4 separate regions of the Homo sapiens genome follow, and regions 2, 3 and 4 are each linked to region 1. The links are contacts of gene promoters, found by promoter capture Hi-C in blood cells and fetal thymus (Javierre and others, 2016). All regions are on one chromosome and are shown on one strand. Each heading gives the region's core, a stretch centred on a gene start or on the middle of the fragment in contact. The rest is flanking DNA. Distances are from core to core; before and after follow the strand shown. Region 1 holds the start of PRMT6 (protein arginine methyltransferase 6). Region 2 overlaps VAV3 (vav guanine nucleotide exchange factor 3). Region 3 overlaps VAV3 (vav guanine nucleotide exchange factor 3). Region 4 overlaps VAV3 (vav guanine nucleotide exchange factor 3).

The links. Contacts are between HindIII fragments. The CHiCAGO score rates a contact against its expected background, and 5 or more counts as called.
Region 2: a fragment that was not itself captured here is called in contact with the fragment with the promoter of PRMT6 in region 1 in 1 of 17 cell types (fetal thymus); the score reaches 5.7 in fetal thymus.
Region 3: a fragment that was not itself captured here is called in contact with the fragment with the promoter of PRMT6 in region 1 in 1 of 17 cell types (fetal thymus); the score reaches 9.0 in fetal thymus.
Region 4: a contact is called between a fragment that was not itself captured here and the fragment with the promoter of PRMT6 in region 1, in 1 of 17 cell types (fetal thymus). The highest score is 7.6, in fetal thymus.

What each region holds. Positions count from the first base shown.
Region 1 is chr1:107,052,982-107,059,912 of GRCh38, reverse strand. PRMT6 (protein arginine methyltransferase 6) reads right to left here and starts at 3,239. Exons shown (of 1, transcript NM_018137.3): 1 at 619-3,239. The coding sequence starts at 3,197. The coding sequence ends at 2,070. RefSeq lists enhancers at 2,438-2,647, 2,658-2,787, 2,798-2,937, 2,958-3,007. The HindIII fragment of the contact is 2,330 bases long and covers 3,176-5,505 here.
Region 2 is chr1:107,773,735-107,780,665 of GRCh38, reverse strand. It overlaps VAV3 (vav guanine nucleotide exchange factor 3), which reads left to right. Exons shown (of 27, transcript NM_006113.5): 3 at 1,174-1,232; 4 at 3,370-3,435. Among named protein-coding and RNA genes, the nearest start is that of MIR7852, 120 kb to the left of the region's middle. The HindIII fragment of the contact is 1,056 bases long and covers 2,524-3,579 here.
Region 3 is chr1:107,745,865-107,752,795 of GRCh38, reverse strand. VAV3 (vav guanine nucleotide exchange factor 3) reads left to right here. Exons shown (of 27, transcript NM_006113.5): 13 at 1,594-1,679; 14 at 3,202-3,334; 15 at 3,719-3,828. Among named protein-coding and RNA genes, the nearest start is that of MIR7852, 150 kb to the left of the region's middle. The HindIII fragment of the contact is 1,404 bases long and covers 3,596-4,999 here.
Region 4 is chr1:107,596,583-107,603,513 of GRCh38, reverse strand. VAV3 (vav guanine nucleotide exchange factor 3) reads left to right here. Exons shown (of 27, transcript NM_006113.5): 23 at 351-467; 24 at 1,030-1,117. Among named protein-coding and RNA genes, the nearest start is that of MIR7852, 300 kb to the left of the region's middle. The HindIII fragment of the contact is 733 bases long and covers 3,379-4,111 here.

The DNA.
Region 1 (6,931 bases), core at 1,990-4,489:
GGTTCTACTATGGGCTGTCTGGCTCCAGAGTCCAATTTTGTAGCCATTATGTTATGCTAACTCTTGACTAATTGCTTCAGTCGCTGTATTTTTATAATTCATTTTTCTTCTGGGAAGGAGTAATAAAAATCCTGAAGCTTACTTTAACTATGGAATACATACCCTTTACTTCTATAGTTCCTCCAAGTTTTAACTGAGGTTCCCTTTATGTGCTTATACTGATAATGATAACTCTATAGTATTTATCAAATATATAAAAAATAGAATTTGGAAGAATATTCTCATTTATCACTTAGTAAAGGAATTGTTAAATCAAGTTTTTTTTAAAAAACAAACCAAACCACCAGAAACCTACTCAAAATCACACACTCAAACTCTAAATAAATATTTGATTTAAAACATAGAACACCTTATAAGGAGCTCTATTTTCCCTCTAGCTTAAGTCTAGCTTGCTGTGACTGTAGCATTTACATGAGATGATCACTATCTTAGCATCAAAATGGTGACGGTTACAACTGTACTGCTTGCTACTCAATTATCTTGTAAATTGATAATTTTGTACATGTATATCTCTCCATGATGGAAGATCTGTGTTATATACAACCAAAGTTTAGCAAATTAGTTTTTATACTCTAATACTTTAATATGCAATGAATAAAAGGGCAGAAAATTCAGAATTACAATAAATGTTAGGCTATTTCAGAACACCAGTTTTTCACACCTATTTTCTTAGCATACAGAAGCTCGAAAATCATACATTAAGCATAGTTTGAATTGTCCTGAAGTTATATTCTGAAGGGGCTGTAACACTTAAGAACTAATAATATTAAAAAGGCAAAAGCATTATAACTCACAGCACACAAGACTTTTTACCTCATCTATAAAACGTGAGAATGTCAATGTTTTATTGGCTACAAGGATAAGGAAGGAAACATCAGAGAAATAAATTTGATAACAAGATTCACACTTCATTACAAGTGATTTTCCTAAATTCACAACTTTCACATTTGGCTGAGTGAAAGAGAAAAACAAAACAAAACAAAACAAAACTGAAAAGGGAACTTTCACTACTTGTAAGTAGGCCAACTCACATGATCCCTCCAAATGAGAGAGTTTAAATGAGAATGAGTATACTTTTCTAGCTGGGAAAATATTTTCCTTAATTAAGTGAGTTTAAATAATTTACCCATGGTGATGAATAAGCCCTTGGGCTAGGCTCAGAAACCTCCTCTACCAGCCTGTTTCATAAGAATTACACAAATATTTTTATGGGACATACAAGAAATATTTTTTGGTTATAATAGTAGAGACAAGAATTTTTAAAAATCCATACTATTTCTTTCAGGTCTCTCTCTTAAATGCACCTTCTGAGTTTCTTAGGTATGCTGTACAATTACAAAGTCCATTTTACTTAACGGATTAATGTGTTCATCAACTTTAGCACCCTATGATGTATGTGGTCAGAGTAATGAGAACAGGGCTATTTAAACTGCTTCCTCATATCCTTCCCCTTAATTACCAGTAGTGAAGTTTACCTAGAAAACAATGAGGAAGAAGTACCATAGCCTACAGGCACCTAGGGAGGGGGAATTAATTCGGACTGAGAAAATATGGCTCTGGAGAGATACTAAAGTCGTACTGGAAATGTATGAAGTCTAAATGAACCCCTTTCTCCCCAGCTTCAGACTTAGATAAGGTGTGAGGTGTCAGGGATGTGCATGGACCCTTCAAAAACTGACATTTTCATCCGTGTTCTTCCCCCTCACTCCCCCGCGAAACAAAATATACGGAAATACAAGTGCTTGGTACTACATGCTTTTGAGGCTAAATGCCCAATAATAAGCACGCTGTATCCGTTGTTGAGGGGGATCACTTTTTAAGTAAACATCACCAGAAGAATCTCTTCAAATGGAGAATGAAGTCACTCTCCCTCCCTAGAGGCTATGAGGGAAAAGGGGGAGATATTCCCCCTACTTGCACGTGGGATCTCCCTTTCCCCTCCGACCTCGCTACGCCTCTCCCACGCAGGTCAGGCTGCTTTGGGAGGTAGCTGGGAGAAAAGGCAACGCTCAGTCCTCCATGGCAAAGTCTTTGGTCTTCTCCTCCTGGTCTCCCACTTTGTAGCGCAGCAGCACGCGCAGGCGACGGGGGTTGTCCCGGGAGGGCAGCAGCGTGATCTCTCCTGAAACGTCCGTGTCTTGCTCCACTTGCACCGGCTCGTTCAGGTAGAGGAGCGCCTGTTTCCAGTGAGTGGCCGGGTGAAAAGGCGAGGTGGACAGCACCAGGGGTTTCTCCGACTCCCCTCCAGGGAAGGTCACCTGGAACCAGATGGCAAAGCCATGCATGGGCGCCGAGCCATAGCAGCTGCAGCGGAAGCGCCCGCCCACTCCGGCCTCCAGCTCCTGCTCCAAGCCGGCGCGGGAGAGCTCTAGCTGAGCAAAGCGCTGCGGCCGGGCCAGCACGTCCTCGCCGGACAATCCCTGCACAACGATCTCCGAGTGGCCCATGAGACAGCGCGTGGCGAAGCCCTCCAGGCAGCTCATGTCCACACCATAGTGCTGCTTCACCTGGCTCCAGAAGCCCAGGCGCCATTCCAGCATCTGGTCGCTGATGGGGGCTATGAAGAGCTCGGCGGAGGCCGGCAGGAGAAGACCGCCCTCCTTCAGCCACTTGGTTCGCGCGTGGAGGACGGAGCTCAGCATGGACTCGTGCAGGAGTCCGTAGCCCATCCACTCGCTCACGATGGCATCCACCTGTTCCGGCAACTCTACAGTCTCCACTGGTCCCGGCAGGACGTGCACCCGGTCCTCCAGCCCGTTGAACCGCACCACCTCCCGGGCCTGTTGCCAGATGGCGCTGGCCTCTACCGCGTACACGCGCCGGGCCCCGGCCTGGGCACAGAAGATGCTCAGAATGCCGGTGCCCGCGCCCACGTCCAGTACCGTCTTGCCTCGCAGTGCTGCCCAGTTCCGAAGGATACCCAGGCGGTAGGCATCGGTGCGGACGCGGTCCGCGATCATCTCCTCGTGGACCGAAACGTCCGAGTAGCACTCGTAGTACAGCTGGTCCCGTTCCCGCTTAGTCCTCCGGGGTCGCTCCAGGGCCGCCTCCCGCTCCGCGCCATCTTCCTCTTCAGTTCCCTCCCCTCCTTCGCCGCCGCCCCCCGACTCAAGCTTTCTTTTCTTGGGCTGCGACATCTTGGCCGCTCTGCCCGGCTCCCGGCGGGCGTAGCGCGGCACGGCGCGGGCTCCAGGAAACGGGGGCTTCTGGGACTTGTAGTGCGCGCTCGTCCTTCCTACTTCCTGCGGGGTCGCCCGGCCGGCGGCGCGGAAGGTCTCCTGTGCCTGCTCACGGGAGCTGTTTTGTATTGCTCTTCTGGTGTCCTGGCATCCCTTTTCCCACCCACGACGCCCACATTCTGAGATCCTTTCATTCCCCCTCCCACCCTTAGCTCCTCAGTTTTTTGCTTTCACTCCCTTCCTGAAGTAGGCACGCACACTTAAGACTAATAATCCACCTTTGTTTCTTCTGCTGAACTCACCTCTGTTTTTTTTGTTTGTTTTTCTGTTTTTTGTTTTTTTTGAGAGGGAGTTTCGCTCTTGTTTCCCAGGCTGGAGTGCAATGGCGCGATCTCCGCTCACCGCAACCTCCGCCTCCTGGGTTCAAGCGATTCTCCTGCCTCAGCCTCCCGAGTTGCTGGGATTACGGGCGCATGCCACCAGGGCCGGCTAATTTTGTATTTTTGGTAGACGGGGTTTCTCCCTGTTGGTCAGGCTGGTCTCAAACTCGCGACCTCAGGTGATCCGCCCACCTCGGCCTCCCAAAGTGCTGGGATTACAAGCGTGAGCCACCGCGCCCGGCCTAACTCACCTCTGGTTTTATTCCACCGAATTAACATGGCAGCACCATCCACCCACTACCGCCTTAACTGGACAATTGTAGCTCTTAAAGTGCTCCAGCTGTGGCAATTTAGAAACTGCACTACGCATTTCTTTTTTCTGTTTTCAGTGCAGTTAGAGTGCAAATGTAACAAAATTAAAACCTAACAATGCAAAATCTTGGTTCTGATTCCAGTATGACCACTAATTAGTTGAGTGATTTAGGGCAAATAATAGAACTTCTCTGGCCTTTAGTTGCCCATTCACCCACCAGCGAATCTTCATTGCAGTTGGGGAAGAACTAGGTTTCTGGTTCTACTTAGAAGAATAGTTACTTGGCTTTCGGCTCTGCTCTGATAATTCTGTGGCTCTCTTAAGAGTTAAATCCTGAAAAGTGCAGACTCAAGAGCCATGTGATACAAGCAAACTCGTTGCTAGGTGTATTCTATATATATATGCGTTTTTTTCTCTCAGAAATAACGGAATCAATTTCTTTTAATCACTTTCTCAATGCAATTCATTTTTTCCTGTGTTTTCTTGTCCGGGCAATATTGACACTCTCCTCTTTCTCTTATATTTTTCTTGTAGTCAACCATCAGCTGTTACTCTCTTTTTGTTGTCCATAATGGAAATAAAATATGTTTTTAAATATGTGTGGCATCTGTATGGGTGTCCGTGTTATTAACAAGGTGGGCATAATGCCATTTTCTGCCAGCTTGAAAAAAAAGTCACTCAGAGTAAAATGGATTTTTATTTTCTTGTGGTCTTGAATTATGTCCTTGTAACCAATAGGCCTGTATTCCTTGTCTGGGATCAAAGTTCTTTCATCCTATTTTCTCTATTAATCTTTCATTAGCAGAATAGGTTTATTGATATGGCATCCTTAGCTGTACTCTACTTCTAACTCAAGACTCTCCATCCTGGCTGCTTATTAGAATTCTCTAAGGAGCTTTTTAAAAAATACCGATGCCTGGGTCTACCTCAGACCAATTAAATCGGAATCACTCCAGTGGAACCTGGGCTTCTAGTTTTTAAAAGCTCCCCAGGGAATTCTAATGGGCAGCCAGGGTGAGAACAACTGTTTCTCACTAAAATGATCTTAGTTAAATCTTGCTTCGTTATTTTAATTGGGTAAATTGTATTTTTTTCAGTGGCCTGGGCTCAACCATTTAAGGCTAAAAACCTTGAAGTATTTCTTCTCTTTTTCTGCCTTGGTTTAATATCTTATTTTAAGATAATTGAGGCCCAGTGTAGGACATCAGATTAGAGTTGTAAATGTGACCACTTTAATATGTTACTTTTATTAATAGGTTGTTACTTAGTGTATACTTTTGCCATTCTTTCTTTCCTCAAAATGTCACCTTTTCCTTTTAAATACATTCATTCCTTCACCCAATTTTCAATTCACTTCCTTATGGTCTCTTTTAAGAAAATTCTGAATATAAGTTTCACTGGTTCTACCTCCAAAATATATCTTGAATCCATCTGCTTTTCTCCATTTCTATTGTCAACACCCTAGTCTAATCTTCCATATTGACTTGCCTGAAAATTAGTCTCCTAAGGGATCGCTCAGCTTCTAATCTCAACCCTATCTAATCCCTTCTCTACATAGCTGAAAGAATAAGCTTTTATAAAACCCATTGGGCCATGTCATTCTTCAGTAACTTCCCGTGTTAGTTAATGGAACAATTCAGTAACTTCAGGTAACTTCCCATCTCATCTCATACCATTTTTCCCAACTCTTCATTGGGCTCAAGATATACTGGTTTCTAATAACACATTTCTTTCCTGTGTCAGGTCGTCATGCATACTCTTCTGGTGCTGAGAAAATTGTTTTTCTCCTTAGCACTTCACTTTAGTGGCTTCTCATCCTTCATGTCTCAACTTAAATGTTACCTCATGAAAAAGGCCTTTCCTGGCTTCCTTAAATAATATTTTCAAACCCAAGACACTATTTTGTTCCCTCCCAGCATTCATTATTATCTGTATGTATTTAATTAATTTATTTGTTTTCTATACAATATCAACTCCAGGAGACTTGGACTTTTGTATTCCCACTATTGCAGTCCTTAGCACTACAACAGAAGCTGGCACATAGAAAGTGCTCAATAAATAGTCTTGAACAAAGTCTATTGTGGATGTAGAGAGTTTTGCTTCATTAGTTCAATGTGACAATGTGACTTGGTAAACTCTGAGATAGATCCAGATATAGATAGAATGTGGAATGCTCCCAGAAATGAGAATAGTATAAATTTTAAATACTGTTAATGCTTCTAGATAGAATAGTGGTAAGCACCAAACATTATCCCTAGAGCAGATTAAAAAAGGTCTGTGGCACTTTCCTTTCCTGCCCTTTTATTTGATATAGAGAAGGAGTTCTTTACTGATCTTTTGTACCACAGTGAGATGTTTTAAGTAGGAAAGGGACCTAGATCATAGCCCTTCCCTAAGCCGTGCGGCTCAGCAGCAAACCACCTGCATGGGAGAAGAGTTGGAGTTCTGCTGGCAGAGCATTCTTAGTATTTTCATTTCAGCGATCTGCTTGCCACGTCTATTCAATGCTCAAACCCAGTTTTTCAAACAAATGATCTTGAAATTTTAATTTAGTGCAACTTGACCACCATTAAGAAGAAATAATAGATCAGAAAATACTAAATGTGTCAAATGAGTAAAGGTGGGTATTATTTCATAAAACTTGTTTCGTGGCTCACACCTGTAATCCTGGCACTTTGGGAGGCCGAGGCAGGCAGATCACGAGGTCAGAAGTTCGAGACCATCCTGGCCAACATGGTGAAACCCTGTCTCTACTAAAAATACAAAAATTAGCTGGGCATGGTGGCACGCGCCTGTAGTCCCAGCTACTCAGGAAGCTGAGGCAGGAGAATCGCTTGAACCCGGAAGGCAGACGTTGCAGTGAGCAGAGATTGTGCCACTGCACTCCAGCCTGGTGAAAGAGCGAGACTCCGTCTAAAAAAAGTACTGTATGTATATTTCTTGCTTCAGGTTATGGTTAAAAGTTTGAAATATACAGCTTACTGTTCTCCAAAAACACT
Region 2 (6,931 bases), core at 1,802-4,301, 720 kb before region 1:
TGTGTGCCTGTAATCCCAGCTACTTGAGAGGCTGAGGCATGACAATCACTTGAACCTGGGAGGCAGAGGTTGTAGTGAGCCAAGATCGCACCACTGTACTCCAGCCTGCACAACAGAGTGAGACTCTGTCTCAAAAAAGAAACAAACAAGAATAGACTTTATGAGAAAAATACATTTTAGATAAATGGCTTTCTCACTAAGTCTTCGAAAGAGACAATCTTAGGACAAAAGATTGAAGGAAGGGTAAAGTTGCTAGCAGAGTATATTTAACATTTAGATTTAAGTACTGAAGATCTTTATAAGGAATCTTTGAAACATAATTAAGGTTAATTTAGAAAACTTTTTCTGAAAACACTCAGAATTAAATTAAGGCAATTTCCTTAAAGTTGGTGATTATACAGAATAGCTACTATTTAAATAGTTTACGTGCTAGCTTATTTAATCCTCACGATAATGTAATGATTGTTAATAATCTAACTATTATTATAGGCATTATCTAGAAGATGAAACAAAAGCTCAGAGAAGTTAAGTATTTTGCCCAAAAGTACTTGGCCAATAAATGGTAAGCTGAGGATTTAGACTCAGGTGGTCTGGCCCAAGAGCCCGCCCACAGTCTCACCTGCTTTGCTATATAGCAGGACTGTCCAATAGAACTTTCTGTGATGATGGAAATTTTTTGATAACTGTGTAGTTCATTACAGTGGCCACATGTGTGTGGCTACTGAACACTTAAAATGTGGCTAGTGCAACTGCAGAACTGGGATTTTTGTTTTTAAAATTTAAATTAATTTAAATAGCCTCATGTGGCTAGTGGGTACTATACTGGAGAATACAGCTTTCCAGAATCTTTCAGATTCTGTAAAAGTAGAGATACAAGTTGCTTGGGGCCACCCAGGCTAACTTTGTGTTATACTGATATAGAATCTGCAACTCAAATGGGTTAGTAATCTACTTAAAGTAATAAAGTAATTTATTACTTTAAGTAATAATTATAAAATTATAATCCAGGTGTTTATACTTCCCAATCACAGCCCTTCTCATTCTGCACATCTTTGACACCTGCAAATTTATGTTTCTGCTGCTATGGTTAATATTAGATTGAAAAAATTTTGGAAAAAGAAATCTTATATTTTCTGAACTACATATCTAATTAGTATTTTCCTCTTTTCTCAGGTTATAGAAACATTATCACGACTTTCTCGAACACCTATAGCATTGGCCACAGGAATCAGGTAAGCTCTGTTTTCGTTGTTCATGTGTCCCATTGAGTTCAGTGTAATGATTCTTTATTAAATGGTTACTATTTGTGAAGCATCTTGCACACAGGTACTATGTCTCATTCATGAAGAGTGCCTGGTATGTAAGTATCCCGTACACGTTTGAAATTAATTGAGCAAGGTAGAACTTATTGATAGAGTTGAATAACACATTGGCTAAACATTGTTCTCAATTCACAGGTGACTGTCACTGGTGTGGTTCTTCTTTTTTTTTTTTTTTAACTTTCCTCCAACATTTCTGTACATATGATTCATTAAAGTAAACACAAATGCTTAAGTAAATAAATATTTATAAGATGTTGTAATATGTTTATTTCCTATAGAGTAGATCATAATAACTCATAGCTTTTAGGAGTTTAAGAAATAATCAAACAAGTATAAAACATGTGTACAAGAATGTGTATTGAAGGTTCAGTAGTAAATTAAAAACCTGGAAGTAAATTGGTTAAATATAGTATGTCATCTCCTTGCAATAGAGTATTATGCAGTTGATAAGCATAAAAATATAGATGTGTATGTTGTGTTGAGCCTTTTCTGTTTCAGATACTACATACTTAAGTTAGATCAGTCAGCAAAGATGTATTATATAAGTAACATTAGGAAATAAAGCAAAACAGTCTCTACTCAGCCTGGTTTCATGGAAATGGATCAAATTTGTTTTTTACCTTCTTTATTCAGTGCTCCATATTTCTGTCTCTGGCCATCACAGCCATTTTTCTGTGTCCAGCTCACATTCACATTCTAAGGGAGAGAGGATCCAAGCAGGACTTAGTGGGGTTCTCTGCACTGGCTACAAAGCACAGTGAGCTCAGGAAAAATGCCCTGCTGGTACAGGACCTTTCTCAGAAATGGGCCATGAATTTGGCAGCTTTCTATGTATATGGTCTGTCGGCTGGATAAATGTTTAACTCCTAATTTGCTCTTCAATACATGCATACCTTTCATGTCAATATATATTTTATGTTATTATATGTAAAGATTTTTTTAAAGCATGATCAAATTTTTATGTATTGATTCTGAAAAAACGTAAGTCAAAATTTTTCTCCTTTTTTTCTCATCTATATTTTCTACAATGAACTTGCATAATAAAATGTGCCTTAATTTATAAAAAATGATTATGAGACTACATTTCTCACACACTGATTTATTTGAAAAACCTAGTCTCCTCAAATGTCTTCAGTATTAAATTAATCCATAAGTCAATGTGAAACTCTGCTTTTAATATAACTAGTAATTATTTAAAGCTTATTTATTATTTTGATGGATCCTCTGGTTTTTATGAAACATGTGATATGCTGGCTGCCTGAAAAGAGTAGAATTTTTGGCACAGTATGCTTACTGTGATTTTGTTAGACATAAATTTAAGGCAGTTATGAAAAAAGGACATAGTACCATGATGCAAACAAGGAAGCCACACAGTGGGAATAGGAGATACATTAAAGGTGATTTTCTTGAATAGGGAACAAAGAAAACACTCTATTCACCCCAAGGTCTGGTTGACTCATTTGTCTAATAAACGAAAATAAAACATACAGCTTAAATACCCTAAAGTCTGAGCAGAAATGTCAGGGTCAATGACCGTATATGTAAAGGGCACAATGTTTTTGTCTTCTACTAGTTTTCATCTACACTAGTGAACGGAGCCATGGAAGGATGATTGCTACCAAATTATTTGTTATCAGATCCCACAGCTGAAAAGAGAGGGTGCTGAAGGCAAGGGTACATGCACAGCTGTTTGTTGTCTGACTTGGGGTGCTGCAGTGGGTGAGGTGACCCTGCAGGTATGTGGCAGGTGGGAGATCAGATAAGCACGTTATTATGACCCCCTGCACATGTGACTGTGGTGACCAGCTGTAATTGCTTCAGATGATTTCAGGTGGCAGGTGTTACAGCCTCCCTAGGGGAACCCCAGACAAAGCCACTGAGCAGGCACTTTAGGGAAAGCCCTAGATATTGTTAGACATGGTGACTGATCTGACCATTTTGGCAGCAGACAACTTACATATTTAGTGAGGGTTAAGTGCGCAGCCTGATTGTTGCTCGTTCACTCATGGGTTTGTTTTTTTGTTTTTGTTTTTTCTCCTCTTCCTAGGCCCTTCCCAACAGAAGAAAGCATTAATGATGAAGACATCTACAAAGGCCTTCCTGATTTAATAGAGTATGTTGAAAATTTCAAGCAAAATTTAGCCACTGCCAATTTATGTGTCCATTGTGGGTTTTAACTGTGGATGTTAAAGTAAGCTATCTGAAGGAGGAAAAGTGGCTTAATTACTGATTAACCTTAAACTGGCGATGGAAAGCTTTACAAGAAAATGTACTTCAACTGGTTTTTAGTTCCTGTTTTGTGTCCCCATGAAGAATAAAGAAACTTACTCTAATGAAGTAAAATTTCAAAGTTTCTCAAAGGCATAACAGAAGTAGTAGATAAAACTGGAGTTAGGGAACAATTTAAAAGAAATAGAATCTGCTGCTGGAGTTGTGGGACACATAGTGCATGCCTTATAAGTTCAAGGAAGGGAGAGATAAGTGTGGGTTGGAGCTATTCGGGATGTTTTAGTAGGCGGTGTTTGTTCTGAACAGAGAATCTTTTTGGGCTCTATTATTTAATAGTCAAGAGAGGCAAAAGGTCCTTGCAGCCGATTATCTTCTGCTGATTGAGTGACTTGTACAGATTACAAATAAATATATGCGTGATCGTTACTCCTCAAGGAACTGATGACATGGATCAGGCATGTTTGCAAAGAATCATAATAAGAAATAGATTATGCCCCAAGACAGATTCAAATGCTATGGAACTTCATCCATTCATTCATCTATCCTTCCTCATACACCCAACACACTGGGCTTGTTTTAGCCTTGTGACCTTTACACCTGCTATTCTTTCTGCCTGTTTGACTGATCCCTCAGCGTTCAAGTTTTTGCTTAGATTTCCCTACAGAGAGGCCTTCTCTGACTATCCTGTCTAAAATTGCCACCACCCCCTTACATTGCTGTGTTTTTACAGCATTTGCCAATGCCTGAGACAGTCTTGGTTTGCTTCATTTATTGTTTGTCTCCTCATTAGAAGGTACACTTTTGTGAGGTGTGGGACTTTGCCTTGTTCATGGCTGTATTCCTAGAACTTCACAGTGTCTGGCATATAGTAGGTACTCAATAAGTATTTGTTTTCCAAATTAATAAGTCAAAACTGCATCTAGCATCTACTGTTTGCCAGGTATTACACCTGGCAATAATAATAAGAGCTTACTGAGTTTCCATTTGTGTGCTAACCAGGTTATATGCACTATCTTATGTAATACCACAATATTACTAGGTTGTTATTATATCTTCACAGTTTAAAAGTGAGAAAACTGAATTTTGAAAAGCCTAGTTACTTGCTGAGGGTAATATTGCTAGTAAATTGTAGTCTTTGGATTTGAACTCAGACACCTCTTATTCTAGAGCAGAGGTTGTTAGTCACAGCCCCAACTTCCAGATCCCTCTCAGAGCTTTTAGTAGAAGAGTAGAGGGGGTGAGCACACCCACTGCAGTCACACGATGGATGGCCAGCAGCTCTTTCCAGGGTAGGTGGCCTTGAGAATGATCTTTCAGTCTTATATTTTAAATATCTATTAAGAGTAGTTTCTTATCTCTTAAAATCTCTAAGAACTCACCAACAGTAAGCAAGATAGTGCCAGTTGTTTTATTGAATTGGTTGTAATCTTCATAAAGTGACTAAGATTATTGGTAATGTACTCAGATTGTTTAAGGGGAATATTTAATTTCTAGTGCCGTGATGCTATTCTTTTTTTTTTTTTTTTTTTTTTTTTTTGTGACTGAGTCTTGCTCTGGCACCCAGGCTAGAGTGCGATGGCACGATCTCAGCTCACTGCAACCTCCACCTCCTGGGTTCAAGTGATTCTCCTGCCTCAGCCTCCCAAGTAGCTGGGATTACAGGTGCCTGCCACTGCGCCCAGTTAATTTTTTATTTTTAGTAGAGACAGGGTTTCACTGTGGTAGCCAGGATGGTCTCGAACTCCTGACCTCATGATCCACCTGCCTTGGTGTCCCAACGTGCTGGGACTACAGGTGTGAACCACTGTGCCCAGTCGATATTCTTTTTTAACCCATACCAGTGGTGACTTACACCTATAAATTTTTATAGCTTCCCCATTTTGTTCTTTTCACTGTTATTTAGGCAGACATGATGTCAGGATAAATCCAGTGAGGATGCATTCCTAGCTAAATTTGGAGAAAACCTTGGTTTCCTGAATTGGCTGCTCTGAGATGCCAGCCCTTGCTCTGTGAGAGGCAGTCTGCTTTAAATTTCTACCTGGTGGCCGAAGGTCCGAATGTATTTGCAGGATTAAAGAAATTATTTATTTAATATGCCCAGGCTGGTCTCCAACTCCTGGGCTCAAGCAATCCACCCACCTTGGCCTCCCAAAGTTCTGGGATAAAAGGTGAAGTAGGGTTATCTTAAAAAAAAAAAAAAAGCAAATGTATTATCCCTAGACATGCTTGGTTTTGAGTTTGCTGTGACAGCTTGATTTTTATTCTCAGCTTTATTACAATTTCTATGGGTAAATATACTTAACTCTAAATTTTGGGGCTGCATTCACCCAAACGGAAGCCCTTGGAATAAATACTGGCCTGGTCCCCACTGTGGAGGCAATCATTGTTTCCTAAGTTGGGGAGAAAGCCACAGGATGGAGTGGAGAGGGCAGGTAATGGCTACACTGTACAGTGTCCTTTTAGTATCAGGGCGCCAGACATGCCCGTATGTAGGTGGCCTTACATGTCGATTGTTTTTGATTTATTGACCATTTGAAAAATATCACAGCTTTTTTCTTTCCTGGCTCAGAAATCAGGAATTGTTGACTAAGCTGTTAGCAAGAAAAGCAGCTTTAGTAAAGGATTGAATAACAAAAGCCAAACAGTTCTAGACCAGTCTTGTGTGTGTGTTTGCGTTTGTGCACTTGCATGCACGCATGCACTCACACATGCATGTCATTCTTACAGGTCTTAAAATAGAGAAAAGTCAGCCAGGCGCGGTGGCTCATGCCTGTAATCCTAACATTTTGGGAGGCTGAGGTGGGCAGATCACCTGAGGTCAGGAGTTTGAGACCAGCCTGGCCAACATGGTGAAACCCTGTCTCTACTAAAAATACAAAAATTAACTGGGCATGGTGGTGCGTGCCTGTAATTCCAGCTACCCAGGAGGCTGAGGCAGAAGAATCGCTGGAACCCAGGAGGTGGAGGCTGCAGTGAGCCAAGACTGCACCACCGTACTCCAGCCTGGGCAACAGAGTGAGACTCTGTCCCCCAAACAACAACAACAGCAAAAATAGAGAAAAGTCTGTGCTAATTTATATGATTCATTCCTTTACTGTCATGGGAAATAGTGAAATGTAGGACTTCAGCAAGGTTGACTTTTTTGCAGGGGTGGTGATGTTAGGGATGACAAGCAGGAGTTCTGGGATTAGGAGTGCCAGGGAAATGAATTTCAGTCCATTTTGCTTCCAAACAGGATCCCCTCCAATGCAGAACCTGTTTTTTCATCATTTTATATCTCAGCTCCTTCATGAACTCACCAGACCTTCCTATCCTTTGATGTGGTACAGAGAATGTGCAAACCGATTTACCTGCCCTAATGTTCTCTGGCCAGATTGCCG
Region 3 (6,931 bases), core at 3,048-5,547, 690 kb before region 1:
TCGGTTTGTTTGGGTAACAGCCATCTTAATGGTTTTAAAGCAATATCTCATCGTGGGTTTGATTTGCATTTTCTTAATGACTAATGATGTTGAATATTGTCTTTGTGTGTTTGCTGGCCATTTGTATATTCTCTTTGGAAAAATGCCTATTCAAATGCTTTGCCCATTTTTGAATCAAGTTGTTTTTTGTCTTTGTGTTGTAGAAGCTCTTTATTTGTATCCCAGATATCAATCCCTTATAAGACATATGGTTTGCAAATACTTTTCTTGTGTCTGTTGGCTTTTCACTCTGTTGATATTGTCTGTGAGGCACAAAAGTTTTTAATTTTGACAAAGTCCCATTTATCAATCTCGAAGAAATAATTGCTGAATCTATTGTCATAAAGTTTTTCCCCATTTTCTTGTAAAAGTTTTATAGTTTTAACTGTTATGTTTGGGTATTTGAAACATTTTTAGTTATTCTTTATTTATGGTGTAAGGTAATGAAGGGTCTACCTTTATTCTTTTACATGTGGATATCCAGTTTTCCCAGCACCATTTGTTGAAAAGGCTATTCTTTCCCTATTTAATGGTGTTAACCTTGTTGGAAATCATTTGACCATATATGTGAGGACTTATTTCTGGGCTCTCTACTATTCTGTTGGTCTATATACCTGTTTGTATGCCAGTGCCGCATGATTTTGATTATTGTGGCTTTGCAATAAGTTTTGGAAACAAGTCAGTAAGTATGAGACTTCCAGCTTTGTTCCTTTTCAAGATTGTTTTGACTATTCAGAATCCCTTGAGATTCCATAAGAATTTTAGAATGGAATTTTCTATTTGTGCAGAAAACATCACTGGGATTTTGATAAGATACATTTATTTTTATATTTATAGTGTTAATCACACATCTCTGCCCTTTATTAAAATGGAATTTCTGAACGTTAGTGATTTTCAGTCAATTCTTTTTTCCTCTAGCGTGTACAGTAAGTGTTCATAAACACTTAAAAATAATTTAGTTATCAGCCTCTGGGAAAATAGCTCATTATTTTAAATAATTAACTCAGAGCTTTTCGTCCTTGAGGTCCTAGCTCAAGAAAGCCAGCCTGGACTTTATAGACCAAATTAGCGCGCGCCCCCCCGCCCCTTTCTGTACTCCTTCATGGCAATTGTGCGTTTGTAATTGCATGCTTCTGTGAATATTTGTTCCTCCACTGCGCAGTGTGCTTCATGAGGGCAGTGTCTGTATCATTTTGCCGTACACCTGTTATGGTGGTTGGCACGTAGTAGATGCTCAAAAAATATTAATTGCCGAACCGTCTCGTAATTTGGACCCTTCCGGTTGAGTCTTTCTTTTCATAGCTAATTTCCCCTTTAAGAATATATACTAATTAAAATCAATTGATGTCCTTGACATACCCCCTGGGATTACAGAGGACAGACTTATTTGTCATGTAGACCTGAGCTTTTTAGAGTAAGTATGCTTTAAAAGTATAAAAAATGGTAACATTTTAATGTAATAAGGTAGTTGTCTTGAGTAAATATCTCTACTAATATTTGTTTTTATTTTCATGTGATTATGAAAAACTCTGACATGTGCATTTTATATTTTAGAACCAACCAGTTTTGCTTTTTGGACGACCTCAGGGAGATGGTGAAATTCGAATAACCACTCTAGACAAGCATACCAAACAAGAAAGGTAAGAAAAGAAGAATACTATTTTCAAAATAAGTAATTAGTGTCAGAAAACTGAGAAAACCTTAAAGACAATTTTTCCAGTGTGAAGTAGGGGGAAAAAAGGAAGAAATACAAGGAGACAGACCAACCCATGATTTCTAAATTTTTTAAATCTAGATTATCTTAGGTATTCCCACCTGGGTTCTGGTATCTATTAGTTTGTCTAAGTTATTAAGAAGGAAGTAACAAGTATAGATGATCAGCTAGGATACATTAAAATGAGAAGAGCGATAAAGTAAGAACAGATAACTACCATAAAAACATAATTGAATTTTTGGAATATATTTTTAAATAACCAAAAATAATAGAAAAATGCCCTAAGAAAGAAGATTAAGTGAGAATCACGTAGTAATATTTTCTTGAGGGAAATTTGCAGATGTAGTTCTTGAAGATTAGTAAGCTTGGCCCGGAGTCCTTAATTATGTATATATGTAATCATCAAACAGAGGTTTTTGTGGTTGACAATGATTGTTTTCTGGAATCTTTGGAGAAGCGAAAGCCAGTAGGGGGCAGCATCAGCTCTTGCTTCTTCCTCGATAACCCTGGCTCCATAGGTCCTTTAAACCTCTCTGGGAGAAATAGACGTTAAAAGTGATGCAAGTGTTACAGCCCTGTGAATGTGTCATTATCATTGTGTATAAAAAAAATGTGTGTTAATCACTGAGAGTTTATAAAAATACACAAGTATTGGTATTGGATGATGTGGTTATAAGGTTTATTTTCTCCCCCAAGTTACGTTGTTCTTAATAAGAAAAAAGAAATATTAACATGGAAATTTCACCATAACGTTTTCAGTTTACACTTGGCTCATATACCATTCAGTTTGGGTTTTTAGGTGGCCAATTAAATCATGAGGAACAATATAGAGGGTAAAAGCACAGTTTCCAAAATTAGACCTGTTTGTGAATCCTGTTACATGCCTCACTAGCAGTGTGATCTTGAGCAAATTATCTAACTTCTCTAAGCCTCAGTTTCCTCCTCAATAAAATGAAGATGGCAATGATACCTTCCCAGCATGTGGTCTTGGGGATTTAAATTGAGTCATGTTTGTGAAAGGGATGAACACTTCTCAAGGCATTCTGGCTGATTCCTAGTAACTTCAGTAGAAGCTGCTACGGATGTCATTAATATTATTCTATAGGTTTTTAGCTTTTAAATTAAAAAAGATAATTGCTCATGAACAAACTTTATGGCTTATCTCACTTGGCCCTTTCAACAACTCTGCAGTGTGCATTTTACTCTTACTATGATTTTTGCCCATTTTTAAAATGAGGGAACCAAAGCACACTGAGGCCATTTACAAGGTAAAGGGAAATTCCACACACAGTTCTTATAACCTCAAATACCCCGTTGTTTTCAGTGTATGATACTACCTGTTGTCTTTAATGCAAAGAAAAAAACATTTGGTTGCTTTATACCCAAAAAAATTAATAACCCATGTTTCTAAACCATTTAAAATCAATCAATCAATCTCTTTTTCCCAGGCATATCTTCTTATTTGATTTGGCAGTGATCGTATGTAAGAGAAAAGGTGATAACTATGAAATGAAGGAAATAATAGATCTTCAGCAGTACAAGATAGCCAATAATCCTACAACCGATAAAGAAAACAAAAAGGTGACTTTTTGGAAACTAATAACTGTAATTTACTTATAATCTTGAACATTAAGGAAAAGTATGATAATACATTAATGTGAGATATGGCTTATCAATCCAGATGTTTTTGTTTCTAGAGATTGATTAGGTACATAACTTTGTGAGAAATAACTGGATAATGCCACAGCCAGATCTGATCATTTCTAATGCCCTAATGATCCAGATAATAAAACGCATTTGGCATAGAAATTGTTATAGATATGAAGTTGACTACAATAAGCTTGATTGTTCAGTTTGTACATTGATAATATTGTGAGGAGTTTTTGGATAGTTGTGGTATTCTTGTGAATTTAGAAACATGTTATTAATGATACATATTAATCTAAGGAATATTAATTTTAACAGTGGTCTTATGGCTTCTACCTCATCCATACCCAAGGACAAAATGGGTTAGAATTTTATTGCAAAACAAAAGATTTAAAGAAGAAATGGCTAGAACAGTTTGAAATGGCTTTGTGAGTATTTCTATTTTTAAAAGTGCTTTTATTTTTACTAGTTAAATCACTTATGAATAATGAACAACCAATAAGTGTACTCTAATGCTTGTAGCATGTATAATGTGTACAGCGACGGGAATGTTTTTGCTGTGAGCAGGAGTGCTACTAGGCTGCTGGCTGCTTGATAACTTTGGTCTCCTAGGAGAGGAGTTTTGTTGAATTCCTTCAAAAAGAAGAAAGAGGGAGCTCTAATCTTCTGTTTGACTTTCTTATAGGCATGTTTTAGTTCTTTAGCTCTCAGCAGCCCAAGAAAATATTAATTATTCTAATGATAAACTTTTTATGTAATAACTATATTTTTAAATTATATACCTTTAAATAGAAATGCCTCCAAGTGTACATACACAAACAGATATGTAAATGCATATATCTTATTTTTAATAGAAAGATTGAATTATTCTGTTTTAACTCGCTTATTTGAATCTTGGCTAAAATGCTTCGTGTATTTAAGGAATGCTTTAAGGGCTTGATTTCTTTAAGTGGCTTTTAGTTCCACTGAGGAGGAAGCTCAACAAAGAGGTAGAAAATAAATCAACCCTGTTTCAAAAGGAATGGCATTCTGAGACGTAATAACCAAGAACAGGTCATTATAGGTGTTTCTTTTTAGTTTTGATGTTTAAGGATTGAAAGGTACACAATGACCCTTTTTGTAGAAATATATAGGATACCCTGAAATAAAACTGTTAGCAAAAGGGGAAATTAAGGAAAACTACATTTGGAATTTGTTTCATTTGGGTTCTAAGATTATATACCATTTGTTGACAAATTCTGTCAGTTTTTTTTCTTTGTTTTAAGAAATGCTCATGTTAATGTAAACTAGAGGTAGGAATAGGATGTTTTATTGTGGTTCTGAAATTAGGAAAATAAAGATTCTCAAGGTTATTTTATCTAACATTTTAAGAGACAGGATTCTATAGCCAAACTATTTACGCTTATAAAGATTATTTACCAGTTGTTGACAAATTCTATCAATTTTTTTTCCTTGTTTTAAGAAATGCTCGTGTTAATGTAAACTAGAGGTGGGAGTAGGATGTTTTATTGTGGTTCTGAAATTAGGAAAATAAAGATTCTCAGGATTATTTTATCTAATATTTTGAAGACAGGATTATATAGCCAAAATATTTAAGCTTATAGTCAATTCTGGGTTCATCTATTATCACTGCCATGAACTGGCTGCATAATGAAAGCTAAGTTATTTAACCTCTCACAGCCTCAGTTTCCTCATCTGTAAAATAGGAATGATATTTATTTCAAATTCTAGGTAATATGTATCAGCAGAGAGCTAGCCAAATAGTACAATAGCAGCTACAGCTATGTGATATTGAACAATAGGTGATACCTATTATTATTGCTATTATTATTAATAATAATTGCATTTGGGATTCTAGTATACTTACAAGACTTATAAAACTACATAACATATTCTAGTATACTATTTTTTCTTTTTAGGAAGTCACTTGGAGTTAAACAATTTGAATTGGAGTGATAGGATGATTGGGTTAGTGGTAATATGCAAAGACAGAGCTGATCTCGAGCCTTTGCTCTTATATGCTAGGCTTTTTTTTTTATGGGTTTCGTTTGGCTATATAATCTTCAGATGAGTGAAGGAATGTCTGCAGAGAAGGAAATTGAATTTCATGTCCTAGAGCAGGCAGGTTCCTTGGACTGTATGACAGGCATGTCAGTTACTATTTTGTTCAGTTGCCATAAAACAAACAGTTAATTTGTGGATATGAGAGACTTGATGGCCAGGTGTGATGGTTCATGCCTGTAATCCCAGCACTTTGGGAGGCTGAGGTGGGCAATTCACCTGAGGTCAGGAGTTCGAGATCAGCCTGGCCAACATAGTGATACCCCATCTCTACTAGAAATACAAAAATTAGCCGGGTGTGGTGGCACATGCCTGTCGTCCCAGCTACTCGCAAGACTGAAGCAGGAGAATTGTTTGAACCTGAGAGGCGGAGGTTGCAGTGAGCTGAGATTGTGCCACTGCACTCCAGCCTGGGTACTAGACTGAGACTCCGTCTTGAAAAAAAAAAAAAAGAGATTTGACAAGATAAATACTATTGTCAGCATTTGACTTCTCTCCTTAAGAGTGGTTACCTTGTAGTCTGAGATAGCTGCTAGAGCTCTAGGTATAAAATTTATGTTCTAGGTAGCAGAAAGTAATCCCACTTTTATGGATTCCTTGTAGAAATACCACTCGCTTCTGTTACATAATACTGACCAACGTATAGTCATGTGGCCGCACCTGCCGAGGGAGGCTGGCAAATAAAACCTTTATTCTAGGTAGGATTCTTCCTGGCTAAGAATTAAGGTTCTTTTACTATGGAAGAAGGGAGGAATGGGTAGTTGTAGGCAACCAGCAGCCACCGCCTTACAGGTTTATACATATAGGGGTATGTACGGATTTAAATTGTTCCACCACAATAAGGATGGCTGCAGCACATGCACAGAACCTGGGTTTCTTAATCTTTGATTGTTTTCCAAGCATCTCAGCAATAAAATAACACACCAGTAGAAGTAGTTTTTGTTGTTTTAGAGTTCCGTTGAATGTCTATGCAGATATTGGGAGGGTAGAAGTATCTTTTTGGAGAATTGCTCAGAGTTGAAGTTGAGGGCTTCTATAAATAAGGGTTATATTATATATGGTTAAATAAAATCTGAGCAGGCATCAGAATATTCCATTGTTTTATTTCCTTCTTCTTTGAAGTTCATCATGTAGGAAAGCCCTGATAATGTCTGCTTCCAGCTTTGTAAGACAGGTTTTGCCTGTCTGATGCTCATAAAAATAGAATAATATAGGTAAATCCTGAAGTTTGATTTTGCCTATGGTTCAAATTTTGCTGCTTATCCATTATTAAATCTGTAGTACTCCTTTTTGATAAGTCATGGAGAATAAAAGAAAATAACTCCTGCAGCATCCATGACAATGCATGAAGAACAGCAAGCCTTGTGTATCTCCACAGGATGGCTTCTTCCCAGTGTCTTTAGTATCAACACGAGTCCCTTGAGTTCCCCTAGAGTGCTCTGGACTATTGCTTTAAGGAATTCTGAAAAG
Region 4 (6,931 bases), core at 2,496-4,995, 540 kb before region 1:
CTTATACAGGGCAGTTTCTCCCTACAAGTCTTTTTCCTTCCTGTCCCTAAGCTCCCCACAACTGTCTTTTTACCCAATACCCACTGACTCCTCTGTGTCCCATTTATTTACTAGGTGCTTAGTGGGTATTAGGCATTGTTCATTTTGCTGTTGTTAGTTTTGTAGAGCATTTGTGTTTGGACGTATTAAAGGACCTTTTTCTGATTTATTTTTCTTAAACAATGTAATTAGTATAGAATTACCAACAGCTCAGATCTGCCACTAAATTAAATATTGAGAGATACTTACTTTTAGCCTCTGTTCTCTTCCAGGTATATTATCCAAATTTTCTGTGTCATTGTTTTTTACAGGTATGCTGGAGCAATGGAAAGATTGCAAGCAGAGACCGAACTTATTAATAGGGTAAATAGTACTTACCTTGTGAGGCACAGGACCAAAGAGTCAGGAGAATATGCAATTAGCATTAAGTAAGTAGGACAAGTACTTTTACAGAAATAGATTTCCTGTTTTCATAATTGCATAGACCATCTGACATGTATAACACTGAAGGTGAAAACCAAAGTTCTAATTGAAGGAGAAATAATGCATCTATCCAGACAGTTCATTAATACTTGAAAATATATCTTTGAAAAACAGTAAAAAGTGTTATAGGTTGCTAATTGGCATATTAGATTTCTTTCATAATATTGTGTTTTGGTGGTTTGATGTGTGTATATTTCTAGTAAATACTAACAGTATAAATTTCTAGATTTTTGTCTTATTTTTCTGTATTCTCAAACTGAACTTAATAAATTGTGCATAATGAATAGTCAAATCCAACCTCCCTTCTCACTTCAAATATTGGTTGTATCCTCAACCAATCCAGTAAATATATTTTGTTAATTAGCTGTCACCAGTGTATTGGCATAGGTATATATTTTTGTCTGCAGAATTAATTCCTAAAATGTTATTGGGGCATGCCCTCTGGTAATTATTGATTTCTACTGATTAAAAACACATTTATATTCATAAGTTATTCATTGCCCACAGGTACAATAATGAAGCAAAGCACATCAAGATTTTAACAAGAGATGGCTTTTTTCACATTGCAGAAAATAGAAAATTTAAAAGTTTAATGGTAAGCATTGATTATTTCTTTTCAATCTGGGATCCTTATTTTTCTTTTGTTAGAAAGGTCATTTTAATTCTATAGTTTCTTGGAAATTTTGCTCACTGAAAAGTTATTTAAAGATAATCATATTCTAATTTTGCAACAAAATCCTGAAAATTCTAATTTATAAATCTCTAAGTTTTATATTGCTCGAATCGTAATCTTCATTGTAAATTGTTTGCAGGTTTAGATAGAGTTTTGGTTTGTGTTTAAATGATACAGCAGATTTTAAATATACCTTTCTTTCCTCTTTTTTTCTTCCTTTGCCTCTATGTCCTGATTCAGGCAGAGGACAGTATTTTAAATTATAACACAAAAAGTTGTAATTAGTAAAATATGTCTAACATTTAGGTTCATTTTTTATAAAATGCAATATAAAGTCAAATTGAAAAGATTTTTGTATTTTTTGCTATTTTAAGTGATCTCTACCATGGTTCTCATTCATTACCTTAGATAATTATGCATTAACAAGGTAACATTTTTGCCACTTAACAGTTGATATTTCATAGGAATTGTATATTTAAATGGAAATAGTATATTGTCAAATCACATCAAATGAATAAGGATTATTCCCAGTTTAAAAAAAATAGAACTTATTCATACTTTTGTTAGCATATAAGAATATTTTGTGTATGTCATTTAAACAATGTGTATATATCATCATGTATGCGTTGCTAACAGTAAACTCTAAATTCACATTTCCTTAAGTGGTCTCAAGTATGTTTCTCAAGTTTGGTAGTTTCTGAGATAATGAAGAGTTTGGATATAGGACATAAGATGCATTTGTACTGCTAAGTACCTTGAGTAACATTGGGAAGGACCACTCATTGAATGAACCATCAATCAAATGATACATACTGCATCCTTCCAGAAAACATCTCAAAGCACTTTGCAGATGTTAACATTAAAGTTAAACTGAGTGTAAGGGAGCCTTACAAAATAGGCCAGCTTGAATGCCTTATCCAAAAATGTAGAACTGCTTCAAGGCAGGTGTCAGTGTTTTAAAGAAATTGAAGCATCTTGAGTTGAAAGAAAAATAAGAAAATCTCTATGGATGTAAAGATCATTCCCAGTTCAAAAGCTAAGGATGGGCAGCAAGGTCATGTCCTGGAAAATGTAAACTCTGTCAAATTTGTAACCAAGATCCAGGCATCCTCCCTGCTGGAAGTAACTTACATTCTGTTGAAACAAGCAGGCTGAGCACAGAGAGAATTGGACCAGAGGAGGTTCTTCATAAAATGAAAACTTGGAGGGAGGTGGCAAGTGGATGCACAAATAATGAATGACAGACACAGCTGAGACATGATAAAAGCACGCACAGGGGCTCTCCACATCTCTGCAAGACGTACCAGCTTGAGCTTTCACCTGCAGAACTTCCTTGGATGGTAATGAGGCTGCTCCACAGTGTTATAGTTACTATGGGACTTAAAAAACTGCTGCAGAGCCAAAGATAACTGCCAGCCTTGCAGACTTTGAAAGTAGCAAAAGTAACTCCCATCAGAGGAGACAAGCAAAGAAGATGAAAGGAATCGTCACTGAAAAGGGCCAATGAATTTAGCTTTGTGTCACCTGGGTTCAGCTCAAGGCAGTTCTTCAGAAGCCAAGGTTAGATGTGAAAAGCCAGTAATACCACAGTGACCTGGATTGGTAGACATAGATACATGAGTTCCTATCTGCATGTAAAAGCTGTGATTATAGTGAAAGCAATAGAGACCCAGCATTAAAAAAAAATTGTGCCAGAGAGCCTTAAAAGTTTCTACAATGATATTCTCTGGAAAAATAACTAAAAGTACTTGTCACAGGACTAAAGTAAGCTTTTCTTATATGTTATGTATAAAATCTCAGCAATGCCACTATTAGAGACACGTGCATATGTGTTTTCGTCTCCATATCTGGGCATCTTTTGTAAGGAAGCACGTATCACAGCGTGTTAAAGGGAAGGGACTAAGAATTTTAGCAAAGCAAAATGAAACTAACAAACATTAGCAAAGGATGTAATTATGAAAAGAAAAACAAGGAGCTGGAAAAAAAATCTCAATATCAGAAAAGTGCTTTTATCAAGTTTAGTAAATAACTATAAAAATTGCTGAAGAGGCAGCTGAACTAATCTGAAGCTACCCCTCCATTTTGTTTCTGTTCATTTGTTGAGCAAATTTATATTGAGTCCTTACAATGTGAAATCACTTTCTGGAGAACTCAAAAGGACTTAACCATTCTAAAAAGAAGCTTAAGAATCAGTAAATACGTCTACACCAAGAACCTCACCATAGAGCAGTCCTTGGAACCTAGGCTGGGAAATGCCACATGGATACTTGGTCAGAAGGAATGGCTCATGTTTTAGCAACCTGAACTTCTGGAAGGAGGTAGAAGATGATTAATTGGTGTGAAGGTTTCTCAAAATCAAGATCATACAGACTTCATGGAGTTACCTTTTATCATGTTGGAGTCAAATAACACACTTGTCTATTATAAGTAAGGAGTGATCTGTGGATTTGAGTTGTTTCTTAAGAATAGTTCAGTATCCTCTTGTTATTGGTATTAGTTTACTCTTCTATCTGTGAAACACAATAGGGCCTGGAATTAAATTTAAATCTGGAAAGTGTGTAAAACATAAGCAAACTCCAGAGCTTCTTTTAAATTAACTGGTTTCTCAGTGAGAAGATTGGCCTTAGGTGGTTTTGACCTAACCTTTTTCCCTTGAGTTTCAATAGCTTGGTTAATCAGAATCTTTGTCTTTCTTAGTCATTAAATTCAAATCCTAAATGAATTTCTGTATCCAGATTACAAGGCATTAATTTTGTTCTAATTTTCATGTATGCGAGACAGTCCATGTCCAAATGCTGTTTATAAACCATCTCCATTGCCTGTTTCCTTGGTAATTGGAATGACTGGCTCTCACTCATTATTTTTGAGAGACTTGAATTGTTGACACTGCTGTGTCAGTGTGAGATAAGGAAAGCTTAGCGATTTCTTTTGTTTAGAGTCTTCTTATTTACTTGTTGTACCTGAAGGTCAATGACTGTTAAGGCAGGGGTGGATTAGACTAAAATACAGAAAGCATAAAGGCAAATTGGAAAAGATCCATGGTGACACTATTTAGTTCTACCCAGTTAGAAACATGTAGGAAGATTTACCCTCGTAAGACTGTAAAAATGGAACTAAAATATCTTCCATGCTTAGTGAAGTGATAAAGAGTGTTTTGCAGCTTACTAAGTAAGCCGCATGACCCTAGGCCTTGGAAAACTCATTTTTTCTTCCATAAAATTTGGGGGTGGGCGAGTATTAAATAATCACCAAATCATTTTTCAGTATGATAATTCTATGGTTTCTAGCCAAATTCACATAAATTGTAATTCATAGCAAAAATCATAAAATTCATATTACCTATAACAAAATTACGTTGAAGTTCAAAGCTATGGCTTATAATTCCTTTCAAGTTTGTTTTCACATTTGCTAAAGAAAATAACACATTTTACTCAATTTAAGTAATAAGACTAGGAGAAACTTCGGTATCGTTTGTATCAGTGACATTATGTATACGTGTGTGTGTGTGTGTGTGTGTATTCCAGAGACCTCACAAAATTTTGCTTTATATTTTAAAAAAATGAATAGCAATATTGGTCACTAAGTAGAATTTAATTCTATACCTTGTCTGCGCAAAACATGTTAAAATTCACCAAAATACAAATGCATATTCTGATCATTGAAACCATTTTGGAGATACAAACTTCTACATGGTCTTTTGTTTCTTTTTCTCTTTGCTTTTAAAGGTCGGTCTGATTACAAATTTCTTGCTTCAACAAGGACCCACATTATCTGGGCCCAAGGAAGAAAGGAAGAAATACATATTTTTCAAGTTATAGATATAATATTTGGAAGACCCTAACATTTTAAGTCTAAGAAAACAAAGTTCCTAGTACATCATGAACACATAGCAAAAACTATTTCACTTTTGCCTCCCTGTTTTTTGTGTGTGTGTTTTTTGGTGTTTTGTTTTGTTTTGTTTTGAGACAGAGTTTCGTTCTTGTTGCCCAGGCTGGAGTACAGTGGCAAAGTCTCGGCTCACTGCAACCTCCACCTCCCAGGTTCAAGTGATTGTCCTGCCTCAGCCTCCCAAGTAGCTGGGATCACAGGCACCTGCCACCACACCTGGCTAACTTTTTTGTATTTTTGGTAGAGACAGGGTTTCACCATGTTGGCCACGTTGGTCTCAAACTCCTGGCCTCAGGTGATCCGCCTGCCTCAGCCTCTCAAAGTGCTGGGATTACAGGCATGAACCACCATGCCTGGCTCTTGTTTTTGTATTTACATTTGCTAGGCACTATTTGCTAATAGTATGATACAGTTAAGAGCACAAACTTTGGATAAAGGCGCTAGCTATGTGACTTTGCCTAAGTTCACTCACCTCACTGATATTTGAGCTTCAATGGGAATAAGGCCCATTTCATAATGTTCTTGAGTGAAAGTTATAAGGAGCCATGTAAAGGGCCTGGCACATGGGATAATGGGGTAGCTGTTACAGTTTTTCACATGTATTAGGTACTTTATATATTCTTTGTTATCATCTGTGAAATGGTTTATTAGCCCCATTTTATAGGTGAGATTGAAAAATTGCCATTTCCCTTATCCAATGCTTTAGCCAAACTATGCTGCTTTTAGCTTATGAAAGGTGGTCTTTGTTTATCACCTTTATGTCTGTTTCCAGCCTGCCTGCTCTACCTAAAATGATCTTTCCCTGGTTCCTGGCTATTGTAATTTTACTAGTTCTTCAGTTTAAGCCAAGCTACTTGTATTACAAAACTTTCTGTCACCCTTCCCATTGGATACACAAAACAAAGTTCTCTCTCCTGCCTTTGAACTTTCCCTTCCAAGATGAGAATTCCTCAATGGCAGGAGGCTTATCTTTATAATCTCTGTGACCTCTGAAGCTCCTGGTACAGTGCATTCCACAACATACTCAAGTTTTGTCATAAATAATAAATCATTGATGATTCTCTTTTTCTTCTTTCAGCTGATTTTTGGACTCATTGATTTGTCTGGGGAACTTTGAACATAACCACTGAACAGAGATATTAAGTTGATGGCAGTGGGATTTTTAGAAGAAACAAGTGGTTTTTTTTTCTGTTTTTTTTTTTTTATTTTTTATTTTTAAAAAGGCGCTCCAATAGAAACATTGAATAATTAAGTTAAAAGTGATTTTTCGTTTATTTTCATTTCAGATATTTATAAGAAATTTTATATCTACAGGACTCATTTGATGATAAGATACATTTTTATTGTGAATTATTATTCAGTTTCAGTTTACAGTAGAGAGATTCAGATTTCTGCAGAATCTATGAAACCAACCTGCGAAATTTTCTGAAACGATAGTCTGAAGGATGGCATGTGGTTATTACATTAGGTTTAGATGTATTTAAGACAAATTATTTATAAGAGAAAATTGGAAAGAATTACATTGACCTCTGTGAGTAGCAGATATGCGGAGCTATGACAGGTACTATACTTCATCAGAAACTAAAAACAGTCTCAAGTACCATTTGTGCTTTATCAACTTTTGTTTACCACGAAAAAGCATAAGTTTGTTTTTCTGCCATTTTGAAAGAAAATAAGTGCAGGAAAGTAGAAATTGCTGTATATTCAGCAAGCAGCTGTTCCTTTTATTTTGGTTTAGAAAGGCAAGTATTTCATAAATAAGAACAATAATTACTACTCTGAAACTGAGGTTTAGTATTGTTTCTTTTCATTTGCTACATCTGACTGAAGACAGGATGTTCTCCATCT